Linked DNA regions of Homo sapiens: region 2 is linked to region 1. The links are contacts of gene promoters, found by promoter capture Hi-C in human tissues and cell types (Jung and others, 2019). All regions are on one chromosome and are shown on one strand. Each heading gives the region's core, a stretch centred on a gene start or on the middle of the fragment in contact. The rest is flanking DNA. Distances are from core to core; before and after follow the strand shown. Region 1 holds the start of SDR9C7 (short chain dehydrogenase/reductase family 9C member 7). Region 2 has its middle 43 kb from the start of SDR9C7.

Region 1 (6,936 bases), core at 1,580-4,079:
GCGACAGGGCAGCCATCAGCCTGACCCCTAGACCTCAGGTGCCAGCTCTGGGGGCATTGGCTGGCAGTGGTGTTCTCGATAGGGATTCTGACAGAGGACACAGGAACCAATGTTTGACCCTCTTAAAACCATTGGCTGGCAGTGGTGTTCTCAATAGGGATTCGGACAGAGGACACAGGAACCAATGTTTGACCCTCTTGAAACCATGACCCTCAAAAAACCATCTGGTTACTTTAGTTCTAGAGCAAAAGCTAAAAAGTGCAGCCATGTGCAGCAAGTTGCCTTCTAGTCTGAGGGGAGCATGGGCTGTGAACAAGAGGGAGGAGGAGGCAGGTGCCTTCATGGGGATCTGGGGATAAGAGGGATGAACTCAGGAGGAAATTGAAGAGAGAAGTTGGATTATCCCTGCCCTGTCTCAGCCCTTTCTGCCACCAAGGTGAGGGGCAATTGTTTCCTTTCCAGGAGTGAATCAAGTAGCCTGGGGTCACAGGAGTGCACAGAGGGACAAGGAAGCAATGACATGTCACAAAGGCACTGGCAGGCCTCTTTGTAGCACTTTGTAGCGACCTCTTTGTAGCACTCAGTGACCGGCCCTCACTTTAACATCATTGCACTTGGGAGGGGTGCTGTTTCATGGGGTGAGAAATAGAGTGGTGGGAGGGAGCTCTCAAGTTCAGGGTCATGTACCTCACTTCCCTCACCTCTGTTCTAGTTTTTTTCTGGGACGTTATTCAGGACTCTGGTGATATTAGGAGGAAAGAACCACATTTTGCTGCTTAGGAAGGGAGACCCAATCACAGATAATGGCATCCCACTTCCTTGGGCTCTGAGCTTCATGGCCCACCTGTCAACCTGAAGAATCCACACTTGTGGAAGGTCTTGAGCAACTGGGGGTGGGTGAGCCCACACCTGCTCTTCCTCCTGTCTACCTCATCAGGGTGTGTCTTGGACCTCAGCAGTCTATGCTCTCCCACTGGAGGGAAATGGCCTGGCAGAGGAGAGGGCTCCTCTCCTCTGAGATACCTGTGTGCATGGGGTGGGGATGGGGAGTGCAGCTACCAACCTGACCTATCAGACCTTAGGGGCCAGCTTGGCAAGGAATGCTGTCATCTGAGAGAGGGAGGCATTTCTAGCCCTGGGAAGAAGAGCCTTCTATGTGGTCCTACCTCCCTCACACCCCCCACCCTCATGGACTGTGTGTTTAGTTTGAGGCCAGGGGAACACTGCCAGCATAGAGGCCCAGGAGGTGCTGAGTCAGGCCCAGGCCTGTGCTGGGGCAGTTCTGAGTTATCCTTATGCTAAGTCAGACCCAACTCCTGGACCTCACCTGTGTCCTCAAGGACTGGGATACCCAATGCCCCGGACCTGCTCAGTCTTGAGTGACATGGTCTGACCTGTTTCAGCCAAGACTTCTCTGTTCATTCACCCAGGAGGCAGACAGAGACTGGGAGATTGTTCCCAGATCCCGCATAGGAGGTGCTCTGCCTCAGGTTGGTTATGAAGTAGGTGTGGTTTGCTTTCTACCATTTCCCACCTCCATCCCCTATAAGCTTTAGGTCTGCTCTTTGGGGGTGGGTTCATAATCTGGCCCCCTCCCCTACTTTGTTAAGGAACGGCCAAACCCTGCGGGGCTTTCCCAGGGTGACACCTGCTTTATGTGATTCCACGCTGGTCAGACTTGGCAAATGGTGGATCACAGAGATACATCCTTTGTCCCTTCACACTAGAGAACTTTGTGGTCCCATTTCTGTGTCAGACTCGCTAAGCCATGAAGGTGTGAGCTAGGACCAGGCTCATCCCAAGGAATGGTGACCCTAGATGTTGATCCAAAGAACCACAGAGGCTCCAGCATCATTCCCTGCATCTTATGCAATTCTGGGTGTGGCCCCTCACTACTCACACCTCTGGTTTCCTTATTTCCTTTCCTTTACCACCTTACCTCTTAGCTTTCTGTAAATTATTTGCTAAATTGCCTAGAATCTCTGTTTCTCCTCCAAGTCCCGACCCTGAGAATTTTCTATGTCTCTGGCCCCAGTTCTCTGCTCCTCCTATATCTCATCCCCTCTTACAGTCAAGGCCTCTGCCCAGACAATTCCCTCAGCTGCCCAGTGAACTCATGATCCCTCCTCATCATCTTGCCCAGGGCTGCTTACTGGTGACCTGAGTATGACCCCCACAGGGTGTCAGGCCTGAGTCCCCCAGGTCTTTCTGCTTTCTGGTGGCTAAGCTTCACATGCCAGCCTCCCCTATAGGAGGGCCCTGCTGCCTCTAGCCTCAGGACAATGGAGGTACATCCACCCTAGGAGAAATCCATTGCTTTTCATCCTCTCTCATGATGGAGACTTACCTAAGAATTCCAGAGAGCTGATGACCTGCGACTTGTTTCTCTTGGGGTTTGGAAGGTACAGAACCAATGTTGTTTGTTTTACATTAATAAATTTGTCTTGAGTATTTTCCCTGAAAATAAACTTATTTACATACCTGCACTCACGACAAATGATTTTGATCCCTGGAGACCAAAATCCCCAGGCTGGGTTGGGGGCAGGGTGGGGACAGGATTTCTAGGGGAGCTGTCTGGGGTGAGTCCTCATCTTTCATTTGCCTGCCTTACACCGCCTGGGTGAGCCACCACTCATCACCAACATTACAAGTGGATTATTTCCAATTCTTGGCAGCTTTACCCATCAGGGCAGGGGGAGAGAGGGAGGCAGCTACCAGGGCTGTCAGAGGTGACAAGGCTTCAGGTTGGACTTGAATTTCTTGCATCTGGGCTAATTGCTGTGGTGATGCATCCACCTATAAAAATTACAGCGTGGCTCACCCAGGGACCTAGATTTGTTGCAAGCTGTGGGAGGAAGGAGAGTTCTTCTTCCAGGTGGTTTCCTGCAGACTGCCTGCTAGGGCTCAGAGGACCAGCTTCTTCCCTGCTGTCTCCTGAGCCCAGTCCCTCTTGGCCATCACATTCCCCTTGCCCTATGGCGGCCCTCACAGACCTCTCATTTATGTATCGCTGGTTCAAGAACTGCAATCTGGTTGGCAACCTCTCAGAGAAGTACGTCTTCATCACAGGCTGTGACTCTGGCTTCGGGAACCTGCTGGCCAAACAGCTGGTTGATCGGGGCATGCAGGTGCTGGCTGCTTGCTTCACTGAGGAGGGATCCCAGAAACTTCAGCGGGATACCTCCTATCGGCTGCAGACCACCCTACTGGATGTCACCAAGAGCGAAAGCATCAAGGCGGCGGCCCAGTGGGTGAGGGACAAAGTGGGCGAACAAGGTGGGGCGAATTACATTCTTTGGCTTTCTTGGTTTCTCCTTCTTCCTCTTCCTCTCTCCCGAAGCATCTGACAGTATCAGAGACCCTGATGTCCAGATTGGGTGGGAGGGGTGATGTAGGGAAAGGCCCCTGCCTCAATCTGATTGGAAGCCACTGCATGGTTTGGCCTGTTCACATGAAGGGGTGATTTCCCAAGGAAGTTTTCTGTCCTGGAAACTCAGAGAAACGGGAAAGAGGTCTCAATAGGAAGCGAGGGGGGAAGATGTGTTCTGTGTGTCCAAACCTCTAAAAATGGACGTGCCTGGCTGGGCGTGGTGGCTCACGCCTATGAGCCCAGCACTTTGGAAGGCCGAAGTGGGAGGATCATGAGGTCAAGAGATCGAGACCATCCCGGCCAACATGGTGAAACCCCATCTCTACTAAAAAGTATAAAAATTACCTGGGTGTGGTGGCACGTGCCTGTAGTCCCAGCTACTCAGGAGGCTGAGGCAGGAGAATCACTTGAACCCGGGAGGCGGAGGTTGCAGTGAGCCAAGATTGCGCCACTGCACTCCAGCCTCGTGACAGAGCAAGAATCCCTCTCAAAAAGAAAAAAAAGAAAAAAAAAGGATGTGCCTCTCTGATGTTTCAGCAGTCCTAACCATCAGCTCCTGGGGAAATACAAACACATTTCTTGTTGGGATCAGGATGGGGGAGGGGGAATGAGACAGGAGGCTGGATCCCATGAGTGGGTGCAGTTTGTCTCCTTGACTATGTCAGGCAGGGGAGAAAGAGATCTGGTCTCTTCTTGACATCATGGTGGGTGTTGATTTGACTTCAGGGCAAGTATGTATGTCACAGTGGCTGCTCCTATTGGGAAAGGAAGCTGTGGACTGGGGCTGGCCCAGGACTGTGTGGGGACCTGCCTCATGCACTTCCAGCACACAGGGTGTGGGCCCAGGAACAGGAGGAACAGGATGGCTGAGTTGCAGAAGCAGCAGACTAGAGGAAGTCCTCCCTCCTAAAGGAACTAGTCTGGAGCCCATGCGCAGGTCAGGGCAACAGAGCCCTGGAGCCAGGGGGATCTAGACAGTAACTCCCTGCTTGATTCTTCTCCTTAGCACTTATCACTAGTCAATGTACAATAGATTTTACTTATTTATTGTCTGTTTCCTCTGCTAGAATAAAGCTTCCTGGGGACAAGGATTTTTGTCCCTTTTATTTACTGTACATCCTTAGTACCTAGAATAATGTCTGGCACCTAGTAAGGTACTGAATAAATAGATTTGAGTGAGCTAATTAATTAATAATTCAGCAAGAGTGAGCCTCTGTCTTCAGCAGGCTGTCTCAGCCAGTTCCCTACATTCAGCCTTGAGCCACTTGCCTTAATACCTCACTTAGCATGTGAGTTTCCTGTTGCTATTGTAACAAATAACACAACTGTGGGGTCTGAAGACAATACAAACATATTATCTTGTAGTTGTGGAGGAGTAATGTCTAAAATAGGCCTCACTGATCTAAAATCAAAGTCAGCAGAGCTGTGTTCCTTCTAGAGGCTGTAGAGGAGAATCCGTCTCATCGACTTTTCCAGCTTCCAGAGGCAGCTGGCATCCCCTGGCTCCTGGCCTGCTACCTCCATCTTCAAGGCCCGCAAGGTTGGGCCCAGTCTTTTTCACACTTTTCTCAAGCTCTCTGATTCTCCGGTTTCTGCCTCTTTCCACTTAGGACTTGTGATTATATTGGGCTCACCAGGTTAATCCAGGATAATTTCCCGTGTTAGCTTCCTCCCTAACTTTAAGGACAATTAATTAGCAACCTCCATTCCACCTGCAACCTTAATTCCCCTTTCCCATGTAATCCAGCAGATTCACAGGTTCCAGAGATAATGAGGATGGGGACATCTTTGGGGGACCATTATTTTGCCTAAGCCACTTGGCAATATCCTGGTCTAAGAAACACTGGGAACTGGGGTGGGTAGGGGGATGGGAGAGGAAGTTCTTTCATGCTTTCTCATTGCTCCTGAATGGAGAAAGGCAGGGAGACTGGGTAGGGGCATGGCTTGGGTGGGGACCCCAGCCCTAGAGGGAGGGGTGGACTAGGATTTATGTTTGTGTTGAGACCTGCCCTCAGGAGACAGTGGGATGCGCCTGCAGAGTATCTTGGGGCTGCTGAGGCTGGGGCTGTGGTGCGAATCACCAGGCAGTAGGACTTGGGGAATCCTTGCATGAAGGAGCTGGAAGGGGTCCTTGAGGAGTGTTTAGAGGGGTTTACAGTAGAACCCCAATATGTAAAACAAATGAAAGGAGAGCTTCTCCTGCATTTTCCTCCCCCTAGAAGGCTTGCAAAATACAGCCTGGAAACAACTGTTTTAGTCTAATCTGATGAAGAGCCTGAGGCCCAGAGAGGGAAGTGACTTGTTCAAGGCTGGAGGTAAAACCAGGACTGGACCTGAAGCTCTTCAACCCTGGGCCCCTGCAGAGTTGAATGACAACACTTAGCATTATTTCTTTCCATTTGTACCAACCTAATTGAAATATCTCAAGGATAGTCCTCATCACATTTTCCATAATTATTTTATTTAAATATTTTATATATTTATTTATAAATATTATTATTTCCTTCTAGGCTTGTGAGTTCCTTGAGGGATAAGATGCTGTGTTGTTCATTTTATGTCTCCTTTGCCCTGTATTTTACTTTATTTTATTTTATATCGTTTTATTTCATTTTATTTTTAGAGACAGAGTCTCACTCTGTCACCCAGGCTGGAGTGCAATGGCACCATTATAGCTCACTGTAACCTCGAACAAGGTAACCTGTAACCCGGGCTCAAGTGATTCTCCCACCTCAGCCTCCCAAGTAGCTAGAACTACAGGCACATACCACCACGCCTGACTAATTTTTTTTCTTTTTTTGTAGAGACAGGGGTCTTACTCTGTTGCTCAGGCTGGTCTCAAACTCCTGGCCTCAAGTGATCCTCCCACCTCAGCCTCTCAAAGGGTTGTGATTACAAGTGTGAGTCACTGCACCTGGCCTCCTTCACCCTGTAATTGTCACAGACTAGATAAATGCATGAATAAATGTGTGAAGATGAATGAATGAATGGATTGATTTTGGTAGTATGTGAAATGCAGTTGGTTATACTTAAGTGAATAGAGAGGGAGAAGTATGATGGGGAAGGGATCTAAACATTAATTCATTGGTATGAAAATGAAACTCTTATCCCAAAGCTGATAGCTGAAATGCTGTCACCTAACACCTCGATTGTAGCTAGTACAGAGCGCCAGCTAGCCGGCAGACTTTATGTGAATCAGGAAAAAGTGTCCCTTCAGGGAAAACGAGTTAGTAAAAGACACACCTTCCTTTTATGTTATAGCCTGACCGAGTTATGTCTTGTGCACCTGCTCAACCATCCTTGAGGGCACTGAGCCGGTGGGGAGCAGAACTTGGTTCTTTCCCAGGCCCACTGATGATTTCTGTGTGGTTCATCTCACCCCCAGGCCTCTGGGCCCTGGTGAACAATGCTGGTGTGGGCCTGCCCAGTGGTCCCAACGAATGGCTGACCAAGGATGACTTTGTGAAGGTGATTAATGTGAACCTGGTGGGACTGATCGAAGTGACCCTTCACATGCTGCCCATGGTCAAGAGAGCCCGGGGCAGGGTTGTCAACATGTCCAGCTCTGG
Region 2 (6,936 bases), core at 2,325-4,824, 43 kb after region 1:
CAGGAGGCTGAGGTGGGAGGATTGTTTGAGCACAGGAGGTCAAGGCTGCTGTGAGCTGTGATCTTGCCACTATACACACTGTGATCTTGCCTGGGTGACAGAGCAAGATTGTCTCAAAAAATTTTTTTAATTAAACAAATAAATAAATACTGTGTCATAGTGTTCATATGATACTTTTTTCTCTTAATACACATTTAAGTGCTAAATATATTTTATATCGTATTTACATCACAGTGTTTTTATTGTATGACTGTGCCACATCTTATCTATTCTTGGCTGGCTGGATTGTTTCCAATATTTAGCGATCATTCACAGCACTGCAAGATAGTTAAATGTTTAAGTGGTTATTTTATTGTTACCTTTCATATAGTAAAATTTTGAAAATAAAAATGCTGATCCAATGGGTGTGCATATTTTATGTGGTTTTTAAGATTATTTTACGAGCTACCAAGTTACCTTCAGAACGCTCAATCAGTGTCTGAATACCCAGGTCCTTGAGTTCTTGCCAGCCTTAGACACTTATTTATAACAGAAACAAGCAAACAAGACATTTGGTTATTTTAAAGTAATTTTTGTTTTACTTGGCATTTCTTTAATTGCTGGGGAGGTAAAATTTCTTTTCATATGTTTATTGATGTTTTTCTTTTTAGCCAAGTCAGTATTTGAGTCTTTTGTTAATTTTTCTGTTGAATAATTTAAATGCCTTGTTTTCCATGGGAATTATATCAGTGCCTAGAATCGCCCTGACTGGAAGCCCATTTTGTAATTATAGGTGTTAAGTGAGGCTTTGAGTGTGTGCATGTATGTATGTGTGTGTTCTTGAGCAGGACATTTATGAGTAGGAAAATCTTTTCTGGGGATACTTTGATTATTAAAATTAATGTTTGATTTGTTAAACTTACAACTAAAAACATATTTTTTCATAATTTGTTTAATCTATTTTATTTTATTTATACAATTTAGCAAATATTATCAATTTCTTTTTTTTGATAGTGAACATTTAATTTAAACCTGACAAAAAATACATCAATGCATATGCTACCAAGACTTAGTAATTAAATCATATTAGGATTGAGAAGCTCTTATTCTAGCATGATTTCTATATGAGCTGCCATATTGTTCACTTTGACTCTTTTTTTTTTATTGTACTTTAAGTTCTAGGGTACATGTGCACAATGTGCAGGTTTGTTACATATGTATACATGTGCCATGTTGGTGTGCTGCACCCATTAACTCGTCATTTACATTAGGTATCTCCCCTAATGGTATCCCTCCCCCTCCCCCTACCCCACGATAGACCCCAGTGTGTGATGTTCCCCATCCTGTGTCCAAGTGTTCTCATTGTTCAATTCCCACTTATGAATGAGAACATGCGGTGTTTGGTTTTCTATCCTTGCGATAGTTTGCTGAGAATGATGGTTTCCAGCTTCATCCATGTCCCTACAAAGGACATGAACTCATCCTTTTTTATGGCTGTATAGTATTCCATGGTCTATATGTGCCACATTTTCTTAATGCAGTCAATCACTGATGGACATTTGGGTTGGTTCCAAGTCTTTGCTGTTGTGAATAGTGCCGCAATAAACATACATGTGCATGTGTCTTTATAGTAGCATGATTTATAGTCCTTTGGGTATATACCCAGTAATGGGATGGCTGGGTCAAACGGTATTTCTAGTTCTAGATCCTTGAGGAATTGCCACTGTCTTCCACAACAGTCGAACTAGTTTACAGTCCCACCAACAGTGTAAAAGTGTTCCTATTTCTCCACATCCTCTCCAGCACCTGTTGTTTCCTGACTTTTTAATGATCGCCATTCTAACTGGTGTGAGATGGTATCTCATTGTGGTTTTGATTTGCATTTCTCTGATGGCCAGTGAAGATAAGCATTTTTTCATGTGTCTCTTCACTGCATAAATGTCTTCTTTTGAGAAGTGTCTGTTCATATCCTTTGCCCACTTTTTGATGGGGTTGTTTGATTTTTTCTTGTAAATTTGTTTAAGTTCTTTGTAGATTCTGGATATTAGCCCTTTGTCTAATGGATAGATTGCAAAAATTTTCTCCCATTCTGTAGGTTGCCTGTTCACACTGATGATAGTTTATTTTGCTGTGCAGAAGCTCTTTAGTTTAATTAGATACCATTGGTCAATTTTGGCTTTTGTTGCCATTGCTTTTGGTGTTTTAGTCATGGAGTCCTTGCCCATGCCTATGTACTGAATAGTATAGCCTAGGTTTTCTTCTAGGGTTTTTATGGTTTTAGGTCTAACGTTGAAGTCTTTAATCCATCTTGAATTAATTTTTGTATAAGGTGTAAGGAAGGGATCCAGTTTCAGCTTTCTACATATGGCTAGCCAGTTTTCCCAGCACCATTTATTAAATAGGGAATCCTTTCCCCATTTCTTGTTTTTGTCAGGTTTGTCAAAGATCAGATGGTTTTAGATGTGTGGTGTTATTTCTAAGGGCTCTGTTCTGCTCCATTGGTCTATATGTCTGTTTTGGTACCAGTACCATGCTGTTTTGGTTACTGTAGCCTTGTAGTATAGTTTGAAGTCAGGTAGCATGATGCCTCCAGCTTTGTTCTTTTGGCTTAGGATTGTCTTGGCAATGTGGGCTCTTTTTTGGTTCCATATGAACTTTAAAGTAGTTTTTTCCAATTCTGTGAAGAAAGTCATTGGTAGCTTGATGGGGATGGCATTGAATCTATAAATTACCCTAGGCAGTATGGCCATTGTCATGATATTGACTTTTCCTATTCATGACCATGGAATGTTCTTCCATTTGTTTGTATCCTCTTTTATTTCATTGAGCCGTGGTTTGTAGTTCTCCTTGAAGAGGTCCTTCACATCCCTTGTAAGTTGGATTCCTAGGTATTTTAATCCTTTGTAGCAATTGTGAATGGGAGTTCACTTATGATTTGGCTCTCAGTTTGTCTGTTATTGGTATATAGGAATGCTTGTTATTTTTGCACATTGATTTTGTATCCTGAGACTTTGCTGAATTTGCTTATCAGCTTGAGGAGATTTTGGGCTGAGACGATGGGTTTTTCTAAATATACAATCATGTCGTCTGCAAACAGGGACAATTTGACTTCCTCTTTTCCTAGGTGAATGCCCTTTATTTCTTTCTGTTGCCTGATTGCCCTGGCCAGAACTTCCAACACTGTGTTGAAAAGGAATGGTGAGAGAGGGCGTCCCTGCCTTGTGCCAGTTTTCAGAGGGAATGCTTCCAGTTTTTGCCCATTCAGTATGATATTGGCTGTGGGTTTGTCATAAATAGTTCTTATTATTTTGAAATACATCCCATCAATACCTTGTTTATTGAGTTTTTAGCATGAAGGGCTGTTGAATTTTGTCAAAGGCCTTTTCTGCATCTATTGAGATAATCATGTGGTTTTGTGTTTGGTTCTGTTTGTGTGATGGATTATGTTTGTTGATTTGCATATGTTGAACCAGACTTGCATCTCAGGGATAAAGCCAAATTGGTCTTGTTGGATAAGCTTTTTGATGTGCTGCTAGATTTGGTTTGCCAGTATTTTATTGAGGATTTTCACATCAATGTTCATCAGGGATATTGGTCTAAAATTCTCTTTTTTTGTTGTGTCTCTGCCAGGCTTTGGTATCAGGATGATGCTGGCCTCATAAAATGAGTTAGGGAGAATTACCTCTTTTTCTATTGATTGGAATAGGTTTATAAGGAATGGTACCAGTTCCTCTTTCTTCCTCTGGTAGAATTCGGCTGTGAATCCATCTGGTCCTGGACTTTTTTTTGGTTGATAGGCTGTTAATTATTGCCTCAATTTCAGAGTCTGTTATTGGTCTATTCAGGGATTCAAGTTCTTCCTGGTTTAGTCTGGGAGGGTATGTGTGTCCTGGAATGTATCCGTTTCTTCTAGATTTTGTAGTTTATTTGTGTAGAGGTGTTTATAGTATTCTCTGATGGTAGTTTGTGTTTCTGTGGGATCAGTGCTGATATCCCCTTTCTCATTTTTATTGTGTCTATTTGATTCTTCTCTCTTTTCTTCTTTATTAGTCTTGCTAGCGGTCTATCAATTTTGTTGATCTTTTCAAAAAACCAGCTCCTAGATTCATTGATTTTTTGAAGGGTTTTTGTGTCTCTATCTCCTTCAGTTCTGCTCTGCTCTTAGTTATTTCCTGCCTTCTGCAAGCTTTTCCATTTGTTTGCTCTTGCTTGTCTAGTTCTTTTGATTGTGATGTTAGGATGTTGATTTTAGATCTTTCCTGCTTTCTCTTGTGGGCATTTTGTGCTATAAATTTCCCTCTACATACTGCTTTAAATGTGTCCCAAAGATTCTGGTACATTGTGTTTTTGTTCTCATCAGTTTCAAAGACCATCTTTATTTCTGCCTTCATTTCGTTTTTTAGCCAGTAGTCATTCAGGAGCAGGTTGTTCAGTTTCCATGTAGTTGAGTGGTTTTGAGTAAGTTTCTTAATCCTGAGTTCTAATTTGATTGCACTGTGGTCTGAGGGACAGTTTGTTGTGATTTCTGTTCTTTTACATTTGCCGAGGAGTGCTTTGCTTCCGACTATGTTGTCAATTTTGGAATACGTGTGATGTGGTGCTGAGAGGAATGTATATTCTGTTGATTTGGGGTGGAGAGTTCTGTAGACGTCTATTAGGTCAGCTTGGTGCAGAGCTGAGTTCAAGTCATGGATATCCTTGTTAACCTTCTGTCTCGTTGATCTGTCTAATCTTGACAGTGGGGTGTTAAAGTCTCCCGTTATTATTGTGTTGGAGTCTAAGTCTCTTTTTAGGTCTCTAAGGACTTGCTTTATGAATCTGGGTGCTCCTGTATTGGGTGCATATATATTTAGGATAGTTAGCTCTTCTTGTTGAATTGATCCCTTTACCATTATGTAAGGGCCTTCTTTGTCTCTTTTGATCTTTGTTGGTTTAAAGTCTGTTTTATCAGAGACTAGGATTGCAACCCCTGTTTTTTTTTTGGTTTTTTTTTTTTTTTTTTTGCTTTTCGTTTGCTTGGTAGATCTTCCTCCATCCCTCTATTTTGAGCCCATGTGTGTCTCTGCACATGAGATGGATCTCCTGAATACAGCAAACTGATGAGTCTTGATTTTTTAATCCAATCTCCTGTCTGTGTCTTTTAATTGGGGCTTTTAGCCCATTTACATTTAAGGTTAATATTGTTATGTGTGAATTTGATCATGTCATTATGATGTTAGCTGGTTATTATGCCCATTAGTTGATGCAGTTTCTTCCTAGCATTGATGGCCTTTACAATTTGGCATGTTTTTGCAGTGGCTGGTACCAGTTGTTCCTTTCCATGTTTAGTGCTTCCTTCAGGAGCTCTTGTAAGGCAGGCCTGGTGGTGACAAAATCTCTCAGCATTTGCTTGTCTGTAAAGGATTTTATTTCTCCTTCACTTATGAAGCTTAGTTTGGCTGGATATGAAATTCTGGGTTGAAAATTCTTTTCTTTAAGAATGTTGAATATTGGTCCCCGCTCTCTTCTGGCTTGTAGAGTTTCTGTGGAGAGATCTGCTGTTAGTCTGATGGGCTTCCCTTTGTGGGTAACCCAACCTTTCTCTCTGGCTGCCCTTAACGTTTTTTCCTTCATTTCAACCTTGGTGAATCTTACAATTATGTGTCTTGGGGTTGCTCTTCTCAAGGAGTATCTTTGTGGTGTTCTCTGTATTTCCTGAATTTGAATGTTGGCCTGCCTTGCTAGGTTGGGGAAGTTCTCCTGGATAATATCCTGAAGAGTGTTTTCCAGCTTGGTTCCCTTCTTCCTGTCACTTTCAGGTACACCAATCAAATGTAGATTTGGTCCTTTCACATAGTCCCATATTTCTTGGAGGCTTTGTTCATTTCTTCTTATTCTTTTTTCTCTAAGCTTCTCTTCTCGCTTCATTTCATTCATTTGATCTTCAATCACTGATACGCTTTCTTCCACTTGATTGAATCGGCTACTAAAGCTTGTGCATGCATCACATAGTTCTTGTGCCATGGTTTTCAGCTTCATCAGGTCATTTAAGGTCTTCTCTACACTGTTTATTCTAGTTAGTCATTTGTCTAATCTTTTTTCAGTTTTTAGCTTCCTTGTGATGGATTTGAACATCCTCCTTTAGCTCGGAGAAGTTTGTTATTACCGACCTTCAGAAGCCTACTTCTGTCAACTCATCAAAGTCATTCTCCATCCAGCCTTGTTCCATTGCTGGCGAGGAGCTGTGGTACTTTGAAGGAGAAGAGTCCCTCTGGCTTTTAGAATTTTCAGCTTTTCTGCTCTGGTTTCTCCCCATCTTCATGGTTTTATCTACCTTTGGTCTTTGATGTTGGTGACCTACAGATGGGTTTTTGGTGCGGATGTCCTTTTTGTTGATGTTGGTACTATTCCTTTCTGTTTGTTAGTTTCCCTTCTAAAAGGTCCGTCAGCTGCAGGTCTTTTGGAGTTTTTCGGAGGTCCACTCCGGACCCTGTTTGCCTGTGTATCACCAGCAGAGGCTGAAGAATGGCAAATATTGCAGAACAGCAAATATTGCTGTCTAATCCTTCCTCTGGAAGCTTTGTCTCAGAGAGGCACCTGCTTGTATGAGGTGTCAGTCGGCCCCTACTGGGAGGTGTCTCCCAGTTAGGCTACACGGGGGTCAGGGACCCACTTGAGGAGGCAGTCTGTCTGTTCTCAGAGCTCAAACACTGTGCTGGGTGAACCACTGCTCTCTCTTCAGTGCTGTCAGACAGGGAAGTTTAAGTCTGCAGAAGTTTCTGCTGCCTTTTGTTCAGCTATGCCCTACCCCCAGAGGTGGAGTCTACAGAGGCAGGGAGGTCTCGTTGAGCTGTGGTGGGCTCCACCCCAATGTTATCAATTTCTTAAGGGGAACTTAAATTAATATTTCATTGTGTTAATTAAACTCACTTTAAAAACATAAACTGTGTTCATAAATTTAACATATTTAATTTTCTT

Evidence for each region. The method cuts DNA at HindIII sites, captures the fragments that hold promoters and counts their contacts. A contact is called where the count stands out against the background at its distance.
Region 2: a contact is called between a fragment that was not itself captured here and the fragment with the promoter of SDR9C7 in region 1, in 2 of the 25 tissues and cell types used here (H1 embryonic stem cells and mesenchymal stem cells).

The regions. Positions count from the first base shown.
Region 1 is chr12:56,930,301-56,937,236 of GRCh38, reverse strand. It overlaps SDR9C7 (short chain dehydrogenase/reductase family 9C member 7), which reads left to right and starts at 2,829. Exons shown (of 4, transcript NM_148897.3): 1 at 2,829-3,276; 2 at 6,753-6,936. The coding sequence starts at 2,976. The HindIII fragment of the contact is 4,226 bases long and covers 1,890-6,115 here.
Region 2 is chr12:56,888,252-56,895,187 of GRCh38, reverse strand. No RefSeq gene overlaps it. Among named protein-coding and RNA genes, the nearest start is that of SDR9C7, 43 kb to the left of the region's middle. The HindIII fragment of the contact is 5,339 bases long and covers 905-6,243 here.